Regions from separate parts of the Homo sapiens genome. Here all the other regions are linked to region 5. Evidence: promoter capture Hi-C in 16 types of primary human blood cells and fetal thymus (Javierre and others, 2016). All regions are on one chromosome and are shown on one strand. The core of a region is centred on a gene start or on the middle of the fragment in contact, and the rest is flanking DNA. Distances in the headings are between cores, read along the strand shown.

The links. Contacts are between HindIII fragments. The CHiCAGO score rates a contact against its expected background, and 5 or more counts as called.
Region 1: a fragment that was not itself captured here is called in contact with the fragment with the promoter of RDH14 in region 5 in 1 of 17 cell types (total CD4 T cells); the score reaches 5.5 in total CD4 T cells.
Region 2: a fragment that was not itself captured here is called in contact with the fragment with the promoter of RDH14 in region 5 in 2 of 17 cell types (total CD4 T cells and total CD8 T cells); the score reaches 7.2 in total CD4 T cells.
Region 3: a fragment that was not itself captured here is called in contact with the fragment with the promoter of RDH14 in region 5 in 2 of 17 cell types (non-activated CD4 T cells and total CD8 T cells); the score reaches 5.7 in non-activated CD4 T cells.
Region 4: a contact is called between a fragment that was not itself captured here and the fragment with the promoter of RDH14 in region 5, in 3 of 17 cell types (total CD4 T cells, naive B cells and naive CD8 T cells). The highest score is 6.3, in total CD4 T cells.

What each region holds. Positions count from the first base shown.
Region 1 is chr2:19,477,011-19,479,710 of GRCh38, reverse strand. LINC01808 (long intergenic non-protein coding RNA 1808) reads right to left here. Exons shown (of 6, transcript NR_183418.1): 3 at 427-487. Among named protein-coding and RNA genes, the nearest start is that of LINC01808, 9.4 kb to the right of the region's middle. The HindIII fragment of the contact is 944 bases long and covers 798-1,741 here.
Region 2 is chr2:19,331,252-19,333,951 of GRCh38, reverse strand. No RefSeq gene overlaps it. Among named protein-coding and RNA genes, the nearest start is that of MIR4757, 16 kb to the left of the region's middle. The HindIII fragment of the contact is 9,961 bases long and covers 1-2,700 here.
Region 3 is chr2:17,760,306-17,763,005 of GRCh38, reverse strand. It overlaps GEN1 (GEN1 Holliday junction 5' flap endonuclease), which reads right to left. Exons shown (of 14, transcript NM_001130009.3): 3 at 1,424-1,610. Among named protein-coding and RNA genes, the nearest start is that of GEN1, 7.5 kb to the right of the region's middle. The HindIII fragment of the contact is 904 bases long and covers 836-1,739 here.
Region 4 is chr2:19,376,032-19,378,731 of GRCh38, reverse strand. No RefSeq gene overlaps it. Among named protein-coding and RNA genes, the nearest start is that of OSR1, 19 kb to the right of the region's middle. The HindIII fragment of the contact is 5,929 bases long and covers 1-2,700 here.
Region 5 is chr2:18,559,265-18,561,964 of GRCh38, reverse strand. It overlaps RDH14 (retinol dehydrogenase 14), which reads left to right and starts at 1,312. Exons shown (of 2, transcript NM_020905.4): 1 at 1,312-1,785. The coding sequence starts at 1,393. All of the region lies in intron 10 of NT5C1B-RDH14 (NT5C1B-RDH14 readthrough), which reads left to right. LOC105373456 (a long non-coding RNA gene) reads right to left here and starts at 1,789. Exons shown (of 6, transcript XR_007086234.1): 1 at 1,274-1,789. RefSeq lists enhancers at 903-1,122, 1,133-1,182, 1,243-1,292, 2,103-2,152 and a silencer at 1,383-1,892. The HindIII fragment of the contact is 4,929 bases long and covers 533-2,700 here.

The sequences.
Region 1 (2,700 bases), core at 20-2,519, 920 kb before region 5:
GGTTGTTGGGTTTTTGTTTTTTTTTTTTAATTGAAACTGAGTCTCACTCTATTGCCCAGGCTGGTGTACAGTGACGTGATCTCAGCTCACTGCAACCTCTGCCTCCCTGGTTCAAGCGATTCTTGTGCCTCAGCCTCCCGAGTAGCTAGGATTACAGGCGCCCACCACCACACCAGGCTAATTTTTGTATTTTTAGTAGAGATGGGGTTTCACCGTGTTGGCCAGGCTGGTCTCAAACTCCTGACCTCAAGTGATCCGCCCACCTTGGCCTCCCAAAGTGCGGGATTACAGATGTGAGCCACTGTTCCCAGCCAAAATATCTAGGTTTTTAGGTAATGGTTCCATGAAGAAGCATAGAATTAGTAATAATGCACTGATTACTGCTTCAGAAAACCACCTCGATACACTAGAATTGCCACAATTTACCTTGCCCACTTTAGCGAAGATCAGATTCTCATGAGAATCAGGGGAAGGAAGGTAGAGTCCACTAGGGGTAGCAAGGAGACCAAAAGGGGAAAATTCCAAAAAATGGAAAGTGAGTAGACATCAAAATTTTCTTTATGTTTACCATTAAGAATGCTTTCAAAAGGCATCATAAAAATATGGGAGGCAAACTAAAAAAAAAAAAAAAATGTGTTAGTTTCAGCTCTACCATTTCATAGCCATATAACATTTGATAAGACAATCTTACTAGTTTCTTCATCTGTGCAGTGGATATAATAATATTTGCCTGGCTTGTTTACTTTAGAGATATGTATCTACATGGAAATCTGAGTAGATGTTATATTTAATAAGCTTTGTCCTCTATAGAGAAGAAATAACTGTGCCTAACAATAATTGTATGAAACATGATAATTAAGAAAGACCTATGTTCCTTAAATGACAAGTGGTCTTACTTTCTATTTTAAAAGATAGGCATCTTTCCAAACTTAATAGATCTTTTTCTGTCTCTTCCTTTTTTCCCCCAGGAATAATTTAGGCAGTGACTACTACAATTGCATTTATCTTCAAGTCTGACCTAGAACTTAAGTCTGTAGCTGAACTTTTGTGTAACTTATTAGTCATTGAGCATTGCAGAAGATCGAGTACTTGGTAAATGAGATGTACATGCATTATGGTTTGAAAATTTATCCCCTCCAAAACTCATGTTAAAATTTAATCCACAATGAGGCAGTATTCAGAGGTGGGGCCTTTATGAAGTGATTGAGTCATGAAGGCTCTGCCCTCCTGGATGGATTAATCCATTGATGGGCTAATGCATTAATGTGTGAATGGATTGATGGGTAATCATGAGAATGAAACTGGTGGCTTTATAAGAAGAGGAAGAGAGACCTGAGCTAGCACAGTCAGCCTCCTTGCCATGTGATGCCCTATGCCACCTTGGGACTCTGAAGAGGGTCCCCACCAGCAAGGAGGCTCTCACGAGATATAGCCCCTCAGTCATGGACATCTCAGCCTCCCTGATTGTAAGAAATCCATTTTCATTTCTACCCAGTCTTAGGTATTCAGTTATAAGCAACAGAAAATAGACTAAGACAGTGTAGCAGTGGACTGTGGATAGTAAAAATCAAAGGATGATAATGTGGCCCCTGTTCTTGAAAAATTCCAAGTCCTACTGAGAAGACATTTGTTTAATCATTATTTATTATTTCAATAAATATTTATCAAGCCTCCCCATGTTCCAGGTATTGTTCTAGGTGCTAAGATTACAGCAGAGAACAAACGTTTTTTAAATGAAGCTTTCATTTTTGTGAGACTTTAATCAAATGTACAAAACAAGAGTAAGTTTTTGAAACATAAGTCATTACTAAATCATGTGATACAGAGGATTAGTGATGTTCGAAGGCAAAGGAGAAAAGATGAATGTGAGGGTGTTGGTTGAAAAATGCAACTTTCAATAAATTACATCTTAAGCTGGATCTGAAGTTTAGAAGAAATCTTTCAAATGAAAGGAAGAAATACAAGGAAAAGACTCTAGAGTAAGCATGATTTATTTGTAGACATAGAGGAAATTTGCTTGACTTAAACAACAGGTATATTTTGGAGAATTGGTGAATCCAACTGGAGAAGTACTGTGAAAAACTATGACAACTAAACTGAGAAATTTAGTTTCAATGGAATTGGGAGTAAAGGGCCATGGAAAGTTCTGGGTGGAGTGGTGGTCAAATATTGGTGATATAAGGGTGTGTAATGTAATGAGCATTGTCTTTAGATAATATGGATTTGGTGCACTCAAAATTCAGGCCACAGGGAGAATTACACATGAATTTTTATTTTCAAAGGCCCACACACTCTGAAGATTGTAAATTACCTGGAAAATTGATTATTTGTATAATCTTGACAAGTCTGCATAAAAAATAATTTCCCCTGAAATCCAGATTACTAACTTAATAAAAAGAATATGTTTGTCTTAGTTTCTAAGCTATGTAGTTACATAGAGCTGTGTACATTCACCTTCATGACATTTACATGTGGGATAATGGATGTGGATTTAATGCAATGATTAATGATTTGTTCACTTGGAGTTACCAAGTCATGTTTCTATTGAAGGTGGGGGACTAAAAATAGGAGTTTAGATTTTTTAGGAACAATCTCATCACACACAGAGAGAAAGGGGTTGGAGAATCAATTTAGGAACACTTTTCTTTTTCTTGATCCAGTGACCAAAGGCAGATTGGCAAGTGGGCATTATTTTTCAGA
Region 2 (2,700 bases), core at 36-2,535, 770 kb before region 5:
GATCACTCCACTGTACTCCAGCCTGGGAGATAGAGTGAGACTCTGTCTCAAAAAACAAAAAACAAAACAAAAAAAACTTCCATTCAACTATCAAAATCAAAATCAGAAAATTAACACTGATATATTACTGCCATCTAACCTGCAGATCTCATTCAAGTTTCACCAATTTGCCTAACAATGGCTTTTATAGAAAAAGGATCCAAGTCATGATCTTATATTGCATTCAGTTGTCATGTGTCTTTAGTCTCCTTCAGTCTCAACTTGTTTCTTAGTCTTTCCATGACTTTCATAATCACAACAATTTTGAAGATGATAGGCTGATTATATGGTAAAATGTCCCACCTTTGGGACTGTGTAATAAGTCCTCATGATTAGATTTGGAGAAGTGATGCTGTGCTTTTTTGGGGTATGGTAAGGTTAAGAATCATTATACAATAGCTACAAATTGTTGAACACATACTATATAAAATACACTTCACTAGGCACTTCACATATTTTAGCTCTTATAATCCACACAAGCACACTAAAAAGTGAGTATTATTGTTCTTATTTTATAGATGAGGAATCTGAAGCTAAGAGAAGTTAAGTGATTTGTCTAATGTCACTTAGTAAGCTGCAGAACTGAGCCCAGGTCTCAGGCCTGTGTCCCTCCCAGCCTGTGCCTTGTGCCCTGCACCGTGCTGCCAAGTTGACTCCTATCTTGAACCTGCCTGGGGAATGTCAACATGGGCATCACACAAGAACACAGGAAATCCCACTTTCGTAAATATTCTCCAGACTCAACACTTACTAGTTGTATGGCTTGGACAACTAAGTTAATTTTCCTTGGCTTCATTCATTCATTCATCGACTTAATGATTACTTCTTGAGCACTTAGACACAGGCAGTGTTCTAGGCCCTGGAATTACAGCAACGTAAGACAAAGTCCTTGTGGAATCTGTCTTCTAGGATAGCTCTAGTTTCACTATTTGTAAAATGGGGTAATTAAAATATATGCATAATTGAATTGTGAAGAATAAATAAAATCATTCATGTAATGAGCTTAGCCCAGTGAAGATACATCATAATTTAATGTGTCAGCTATTATGTAAAGATCATGAACAGTGAGAAGCCGATCCAACTCTTGACTCAGTGACAGTGCTCTGAGATAAGGAGGGAGATATAGGATGGGGGAGGCCTGCAGCCTAGGAAGCACACTTTTTCCAGATCTGGGATCAAAGCACAAAGCTGGAAGATAATGATCTCAATGAGGACATTGGCAAGGCCTCCCAAAAAGCAGAGCCTAGAGGACACACATCAACACCAATTACTTGTTCAGCATGTGCTTCTCTGCTCTGATTGCCCAGAGCTGTGGCCAAGGATTCCACATTGCATAGCAAAAAACAAACAAACAAAAAACAAACGGTGAGGACTAAAGGCAATGTAACACAAGTTGGAGTGTGTGGAGAGCATTGCTGTTTTTAAATTTTGGTTTTCTTAAATGGCTCACTGTCTTAGATGCCTATCTTAAATTCCCACACCTTAACATGTGGTATTAACTCCAACAGAAAACATGCAACCAGCCAAAAGCCAACATAGTTTAAGAAATTTAATATTTTATATGCATCACATTTTAGAAAACTGTTTTTTTTTATTTTTGTGGAGGAATGGGGTAACCACCACTGGACATTTTACTTTGCCTCAGGGATACAGTTCTGAAACTTGGAGTTTATACCATAACTTGGCTAATCTGCTCAGATTCAGCATCTGTAACTCCTTTAAGTGGCATTTAGTATTATGACAGGAAATCTTTACTGTTTTTCTATTATGAAGAAACATTAGTAGACTGTATTGTAATATGTGTTCAAATTGGGTTACCGTCTCTGATGAACTGCAGAAGAAATGGAAACAGATAGTGAGTGGAACAGGGATGCTGGTGCAATCAATCCCCAATCTCACAGCACGCACCTTGGGGCCCACAGACTGAGGGTCACATCTTCCTAGAGTTTCCTGAGATGGAGAAAATGATTTCTTTCTCTCAGTTGGTGCAATGCTTACATGGGACAATGTGTGCAATTAACCTGGCACACAGTAGTTATTCAGCAAAAATAATTTCCATTGTTATCTCCTGTTTTATGAATTCAGCTTTCTTCAGAATTTTAAAAAAAGCAGTTATAAATTAAACCACATTGGTTTCTTATTCATAGCTGGAGGGCCTGGCACATAGAAGGTGTGATCATGGGAGTCTGTGGGATGAATTATTTGTGGTGCTTGATGGAAAAGTGTTTCCTGGCCAACTCCCTTATTGGCAGCAGCAGGGGGTAGGTTTGGTGGTTCTGTGATGTCTCCCAACTCTGGAGCTGTGCACACAGACAGGCTAGACTCTTCCTGGCTAAGGCTCATGGGAGAGTTATTCTTGTTTCAGTTTGGGCAAAAATTCTATGCACATGCTCTGCCTTTAAATTCACTTTTCAGATACTTGGCTTCATTCTATGTGCCTGAAACTTTACCAGAATTTAGGAATTCAGGGAAGAATTAGACACCTTTAGGTAGTCAATAATTAGGTACCAGGGAAACTTATGTGCACAGATACACCCATGCATACATCAACATATGCATGTGTGTGTATGTGTGTGTGTGTGTGTGTGAGCATATATATTATATATATATGTATTTATTTATATATATATGTGGAGGTGGTATCCTAAGGTAAGGGGAAAC
Region 3 (2,700 bases), core at 38-2,537, 800 kb after region 5:
GATGAAATGTTTAACATTACTATTAAAAGACAAATGCATATTAAATATCTTTGTTGTTGCACACTAAATATTACAAAGACAAGCCTCCTAACATCCAATGTTCTTGTGAGTGCACCGACACTGCTTCTCTGACATCTGCATTAGCAGAAATTAATCAGCAAGAGCAATAAAATCATTCCAAAACTTTGACCCATCAATCCAACATTGGGTAATTTTATCTAAAATTTCAAATCACAAGAAAACATTATATACACAAAAAATGTTAATCACACTTCCATGTATAGTAGAGAAAAACTAAAAAAGTAAATAACATATACAATCAGGGGTATGATTCATAGCTTCATACATGTTGCACAACCACTACAAGTTATGATTTTGATTAGAATGTGACAAAAGGGAAATATGACAACATGAAGCATTAAGTGAAAAGGCTAGGTTAAAAATCATGTGTACTACTACAACTCTTTAAAAATACACACATTTGAAAACAGACAAAAAAGGCCAGGCACAGGGGCTCACACCTGTAATCCCAGCACTTCAGGAGGCCGAGGCAGGCGGATCACGAAGTCAGGAGATCGAGACCATTCTGGCTAACACAGTGAAACCCTGTCTCTACTAAAAAAAAAACAAAAAAAACTTAGCCAGGTGTGGTGGCGGGCGCCTGTAGTCCCAGCTACTCGGGAGGCTGAGGCAGGAAAATGGTGAGAACCCAGGAGGCGGAGCTTGCAGTGAGCCGAGATTGCGCCACTGCACTCCAGCCTGGGTGACAGAGCGAGACTCCATCTCAAAAAAAAAAAAAAAACAACCAAAAAAAGAAAACAGAAAAAAAAAAGCTTCCTATTGTTTTAATTATATACTATAGATGATTTCTTTCTTAAGTTTCATACAAATATAAAATATAGCAATATTAAAGTAACATATAAATAATATATTATAATGTAACGACAGTTTTTAAAATTACAAGCCCTAAGGGAAGCCAAATATATATTCTGTATATGAACTATCATGAATTCTGAATGAGTGAAGTACGAATTAATGAGATCTCATGTATTCTGGGACTTCTTTAAGTCCTGAAGGTGTTATAAAAGGTAATATGATCAAGTTCCTACCATGTACTAGTTGCTTTAGATATACTTTCTCTTATTTTTATCACATCCCTGCTGAGTATTACTGTTGTCATTTCACAAGGTAACATACAAGGTAGAGATAGGTTACAAATTTTGCTCAGTGTCTCAGAGTTTCTACATACCAGTGCCAAGAATGAAACTCAGGTCAATTTCACTCTAAAAAATAAACTCTTTTCTCTAGGCACATCCCTGCTAGTCACAATAAAATTAATAAGTATTAAAGATGACAAACTATTAAGAGTAAAATGCACCCTTTAATTCAAATCGGAATTACTGAATCAAATCTGAATGCTCACCTCTCTTAAGACTGATTTAAAATGTGATCTCCCTGTTTTCTGAGACCACGATTTTCCAGAAGACCCATACCGAGACTGATTCCTCTTGCTTATGACATCAGCTTTCAGCTTTGGTGGTTCCCCTTCCATAACAAATACCAGTTTTACATCCATTTGTGTTAAATATGAGATACGAAAAAATAAGTTCCTGAAATATATAAATTAGTAATACATTAATCATCAAACACTGATAGTAAAAGTCAAAATAGTATAACACAAAGGCAAGAACATTAGACTAGTATCAAAAACGTTAATGTAATAACATTTTACTTAAGCTTTAATTAGAGTGGAAAACCACTGAATTTTCTTTTTCTTTGACAGAGTCTCACTCTGTCACCCAGGCTGGAGTGCAGTGGCATGATCTTGTCTCAGTGCAGCCTCAATCTCCTGGCTCAAGTGATCTTCCTGCCTCAGTCCCCAAGCAGCTGGGACTACAGGTGTGTGCCACCATGCCCGGCTAATTTTCTGTATTTTTTGTAGAGATGGGGTTTCACCATGTTGCCCAGGCTGGTCTTGAACTCCTGAGCTCAAATAATCCGCCCATCTCAGCCTCGCAAAGTGCTAGGAATACAAGTGTGAGCCACTGTGCCCGGCCAAAACCACTGATTTTTTTTTTTTTTTTGAGGTGGAGTCTCACTCTGTTGCCCAGGCTGGAGTGCAGTGGTGTGATCTCGGCTCACTGCAACCTCCACCTCCCAGGTTCAAGTGATTTTCCTGCCTCAGCATCCCAAGTAGCTGGGATTACAGGCATCTGCCACCACACCCAGCTAATTTTTTTTTATTTTTAGTAGAGATGGGGTTTCTCCATCTTGGCCAGGCTGGTCTCAAACTCCTGACTTTGTGATCCACCTGCCTCGGCCTCCCAAAGTGCTGGGATTACAGGCGTGAGCCACTGCACGCGGCCAAACCACTGAATATTTTTAAGCAAGAAAGATTTATGATTATTCTAATTGCTATGTGGAAAATAGTCTGGGGTAGGGGAGGCCAAGAGCAAGAAACTAGTGAAGATGGCACTTCAGGAGTATAGATGAGAGATGAGGTTGGCATAGACTGAGGTGGTGCCTCTGGACACTGAGATAAGTTTGTGAACACAAAGTATATTTTGGAGGTAGAACTGGCAAGACTTACTGACGGATTAGATGTGGAGAGAAGTAAAATAGGGAGAAAATGTCTCCCAAATCTCCGGCTTTTAGTATCTGAAGCATCCTAGTGGATACGTTAAGTAGGAGATAGCTATG
Region 4 (2,700 bases), core at 66-2,565, 820 kb before region 5:
GTCTCTAACTCTCCCTCTACATAGTTAACTATTTCATGTATTAGAAATACAAATATAGTTATTTAAAAGGGGAGGAAGTTAAAAGTAATCTAGAGGTTTCTGTCTTCTGTGGTTTTACAAAAGCAACAGAGCCAGGTGCACCATCCCTAGCCTGGACATCAGTCCCCCATCTCACCATCTGCTGGAAGAAGAACATCTATCTAAGCACATTACCTGGAGAGAGGCAACAAAATAGTACACAAGTACTTGGACAAAGTGACATTTTAGTTAGTACCTTGCTCATTAGAAATGCAAGTGTTCAAAATTGCCTTGATGGTGTTCTTAAGGCAACAACTCTTTCAATATGCCACCTATAGAGCAGAGAGAGCACTGGGCAGAAAGTCATGCAGACCAGTATTCCAGCTCAACCACTCTCTGACATCCGAGCTTTAGAAAATTTCTCTCTCTTGATCTTAATATTCTAAACCATAAAATTAGGAGGTCAATAAAATCTCAAGGGTCCTGTCAAAGCTGATGTTCCATGATCTTTCATTTAGCCAAGCTCTCCAGATGAGCAGTTAGAAAGAGAATCACCTGTACGGAGAATTTTAGAATGGCTCTTTCCCTTACTTGGTTTGTTTTACTGTGCCCCAGATGTGGCCACATCAGGAAGTGGTCTGGAAGTGCCTGAATGCTCCTACTTGGGCAATCTCAGGCTGCTGTGGGGTAATATCCATGTCATTATGTAGGAAACATAGGGAAACAAAGGAAAGTCTCTGATTCCACTTTTTCTTGACAAAATAACACTCCGGGTTCCCAACCACAAGGAGGCACTGCACTGTCAGAAAGGGCTAGGACCCTCCAGCAAGGAGCTAGTGCTGGGTTCATCAAAGTCTATACCAGCAGACTGACCCACAAGATGAGTGGATGTGGGTCAGCGTCAGGATGGGTTCATGAAGGTCAGGCTCTGGGAGAAAAGAGGGCGGCCCCCAGACAGTGAGGCCATGAATGTGGGAAAGCAGTCAGAGCTGAACAGTCAAGGAACAGCCCAAGTCAGAAGAGAAGGGCACTTCCTGACCTTGACCGTTCGAGAACATCCTAATTCAGAGGTTTTCACCAAGGCCCAAAGTCCCATTCTTCCCTATGTATCTCATTCCCTTGGCCCCAGTGGTATAATGTAGACACACGAGCTAACGTTCAGAAGGGGGTCAAAACACCAGTGTTAACACTCCATCGTTCCAAGTTCTTAGTAAGTGTCCACCTGCGCTAGACAAAGATCACTCTTGGAAACCAAGTAGCTAGTATTCCATTCAGAAGAATTTCCACATAACTTCCTTTTGTGCTCTTAAAATTTAAGTGCCCAGATGTGATCTTTGAGGCATTTAGCTACCCTGAGACTCATGCTTCACTCAGAATTCAAAGTCTTTGATTTTCTTTTTTAAGCACAAACATAAGGATTTGAAGTGGTAACTTTTTCCATATTGTGGTCCTCAACTTCGTTTTCCAAAATTCTTTTTTCTGCTAAATATAGAGCAAAGTTACCTGTAGAGCGTCTTCAATATTTTTTGAACTTATATATATATCTAGAAGAAATAAAATAATTTTCTTATTATAAATGGGCATTTTAAATAAAATACAGCTACAGTAAAAATAAGATGAAAAATTTAAATGTACAAATGATCATAATATTTTAATGGCATATATTTTATTCATCTACACAGCTAAGGTCTTGTTTTGGCAGGAAAAGAGTAAAGTTATTAAAGTTAAGTTTTGTTTAAACTTATATAATTGTTATAATTTATTTCAGTTAAACTCTTTTTTCTTTGTTAAAATAGTTGTTACCTATCACGTAAATTGAATTATGTCCTTGAATTTATCATGAGTTTGTTTTCATTTCTGTTCTTGGTGTGAAGGTTCAGACGTAGGAAATGGTTTCCTGTATGAATCCCTGTGATAAAGACACCACATTAACTTAAAGAATAATTTCTTTAAGTGATGCACTTATGAATTTGTTTAATTTCATTTCTTATAGTAGAAATTAGCTGTTTTAGAATCTTTAAGCATTTTACACACCTTCTATGGATAGAGTTCTAGTAAGGAGATGATTCTCCCTTAATGAGCACAATGAGTGTTTCAAGTAGCAACGCTGCCTGATACCTAGGGTCTTTGTCTGTGAACTATTTAGCATTTAGTAAGCTCAGCTTTGGGTGAATGGTATGGTCGGGGGAGTGAGGAGAGAAAGGATTTCCTTTCCTGTCCTTAGGGAACTTTAATTCTTACTGGGAATATAAGTAACAATCAAGAAACAGTAAGAACTAGAAGAATTACTTGTATTTGGGATACAAAATGTCCCCAGATATAACGCTTGCTCCCACCCAATCTCCAATATACCTACACTGTTTGGTATTCTTTGGAAAAGGTGAGGTGGGAGAACCTCTGTTTCCCTAAGCCCTCAAAGACCAGTTTTGAGATTTTCCTTATTTTCTTCCATCATTAACACTTTCCAGGAGATAAGACAAAGAGGGTACAGGATTGTGATGATTAATTTTATATGTCTACTTGACTGGGCCAAAGGGTGCCCAGATATTTGATCAAACATTATGCTGGGTATATCTGAATGGAATTAACATTTAAATATATAAATTAAATAAAGTAGATTGTCTTCCCTAATATAGGTGGACCTCATCCAATCAATTGAAAATCTGAATGGAACAAAAAGGC
Region 5 (2,700 bases), core at 63-2,562:
TTCTCATTACTCATAAGAAACCTCCTGGAATCCATCCCTTTTTCTTTGTATTCTGACTATTAGTTGCATGTTACATCCTTCCCAAATGTAAGGGAGTGGAAGATGGATTATCACAATTATTGGGGAGTTTGTCTCAAACGACACAAGCTGTGGTTCTTTTTCCTTGTCTGGAGAACCTGCAATGGGTGGAGGGTGGGAAGTGGGAGATCACAGTTCCAGAAAGTAAGCACCCTGAGAGCAGAAATGGTGTCCCATTTCTCTGTGGCTCTAACAGGGAACAGGCAGGGCCAGGCACATATTGGATGGAGAGGCAGACGAACGAATGAGTCTTTAAAAGTAGCTTGGTCTACAGCTATGAAGTTTGTAGCTTGAAGAAGGGTCCCTGTGACACTAACCCTGATATTAATGAGGCATTTTACAGTGAGCCAAGCACTTTGCCTTCCATCGTTGTGTGTAATAGTCCTATGGAGAGGGCAGGGAGGCATTTGTAAATGGCCTGCTCAGAAGCCTATATTTACAATAAGTCCAAGCTTTTCCCACTGTACCTCTGCCAGTGTGAAGATCATTTGAAGATGGCTTTCTTTTTTTTAATAGGGACCAATGACATAATGTCTTGTTCAGTGGTTCTCAAAGTGTGGTTCCCAGATCTGCAGCAGCAGCAGCACCTGGAAACTTGTTAAAAGTGCAAATTATCAGGCCCCATCCTGTACCTATTGAATTAGAAACTCTAATACTGGGGCCCTGGTTTTTTGTTTTCGTTTTGTTTCATTCCCCCACCCCGAACCCCCACCCCAAGTCCTCCAGGTGATTCTGATGTGCATTTAAGTTTGAGAACTACTCGACCATTCTATTTCCAACTGATTCATGTTGCTTAATTCTTTGTCTCATCTATGAAAAACAGTCCTACCTCAGACTTCAGCTTGTCAGGGCCCATTCCTCAGAAGGTGAATTGAACTGAATTTACAAGTCCCAAGAGCCCTCAAAGGAAAACACACGAAATGCCCTGAGGAGTGGCATTTGTAACAGGGCCTGTACAGAGATCTGTGATTCAAAGTACTCATCAGACATTCCCATGGGGAAGTCCGCCACTACTCTGGGATTTCAATACGTATGAACCCCAGCACCCTGAACACTGTGCTGGTTGCCCAGCCTCCATCATTAGGCTGGGAGGAGCTTCCACGGAGGGCGCAGGACCCAGGGCGCTGAACTCTCACAACCAATCAGGCGACCCCCCCAGAGGGAAACTACAAGTCCCAGCATGCCCCACGCGCACCGTCAGGGGCCGACCCGCCGCGCCCCAGCGTTCTCCGCGTACAGGTGGTCTCTTGGGTTCCGGTAAGGCGGCGGCTGCGGAACTCCCGTGGAGGGGCCGGTGGGCCCTCGGGCCTGACGATGGCAGTGGCCACTGCGGCGGCAGTACTGGCCGCTCTGGGCGGGGCGCTGTGGCTGGCGGCCCGCCGGTTCGTGGGGCCCAGGGTCCAGCGGCTGCGCAGAGGCGGGGACCCCGGCCTCATGCACGGGAAGACTGTGCTGATCACCGGGGCGAACAGCGGCCTGGGCCGCGCCACGGCCGCCGAGCTACTGCGCCTGGGAGCGCGGGTGATCATGGGCTGCCGGGACCGCGCGCGCGCCGAGGAGGCGGCGGGTCAGCTCCGCCGCGAGCTCCGCCAGGCCGCGGAGTGCGGCCCAGAGCCTGGCGTCAGCGGGGTGGGCGAGCTCATAGTCCGGGAGCTGGACCTCGCCTCGCTGCGCTCGGTGCGCGCCTTCTGCCAGGAAATGCTCCAGGTGTGGGCCTCGGGGGGCCGGGCTGGTGGGGAGGGCCTGGGCACGGTGTGGGAGGGGACTGCGGGCTGGGGCTGAGCCGCGAGGGACCGCCCTGGGGTTCAGGGTGTCACCTTGGGAACCGCTGAGGCTGAGAGGAGTCCAAAAAGCCACTTTGAGGCGGCCGGGAAGCTGCAGGGTTGAGAGGGAAAGAGAAACTAACTGGGAGGGCTGCCTTCTGTCCTCTAAGGATGTCGAAAAAGAAATGGGCCCAAGAGAAAAATAAATAAACCAGTTTCTGAACGTTTCATTTCGTTACGTGAGGACCGCCCCGAAGTAGATCCATGGCCTCTGAATTGTTTTTCCTGTGTCAGAAGTGAATTTGCACCAAGCTGTGTCTTCAGAACCCCTGAGCACTGGGGGAAGTTGCTAGCTAAGGACCTCATATCAGTCCTTTAAAAAAAGTTCTCCTTCCCCCGGCCTCTGCCCCTTTTCTGCTGGGGTAAGGAGCTCGCTGCCACCAGTAAACTCAGCACCATCCTTAACGGGACTGTGGCCTGATTTCCAAGTAGAATACATTTTGGAACCCAGTGGTCATGCTCCATACAGAGACAGGAATAAAAATAACACCCAGCATTATTGAAGATCTGTATGCCAGGAGCTGTGCCAAGCATTTCAGATTTTCCTTTTTGTCTTAAATGAAAATGAAGTGTCCTTGCCTATAACTGTCATTGAAGCTACACAGTAACCCTGTGGAGTAGGCATTATTATCATCCCTGTTTTACAACGCGAGGAAACTGAGGCATAGGAAGGCTAAGAAACTTGCTTGTGGTCTGTCTCCAGAACACTTGCTTTTAACCCTTGTTCTTTCCTCCTGCTGCCTGGCAGTGAGGTGTGAGGATTTCTTTGTGCAAATGGTAAGTAATTCCACATAAGTGG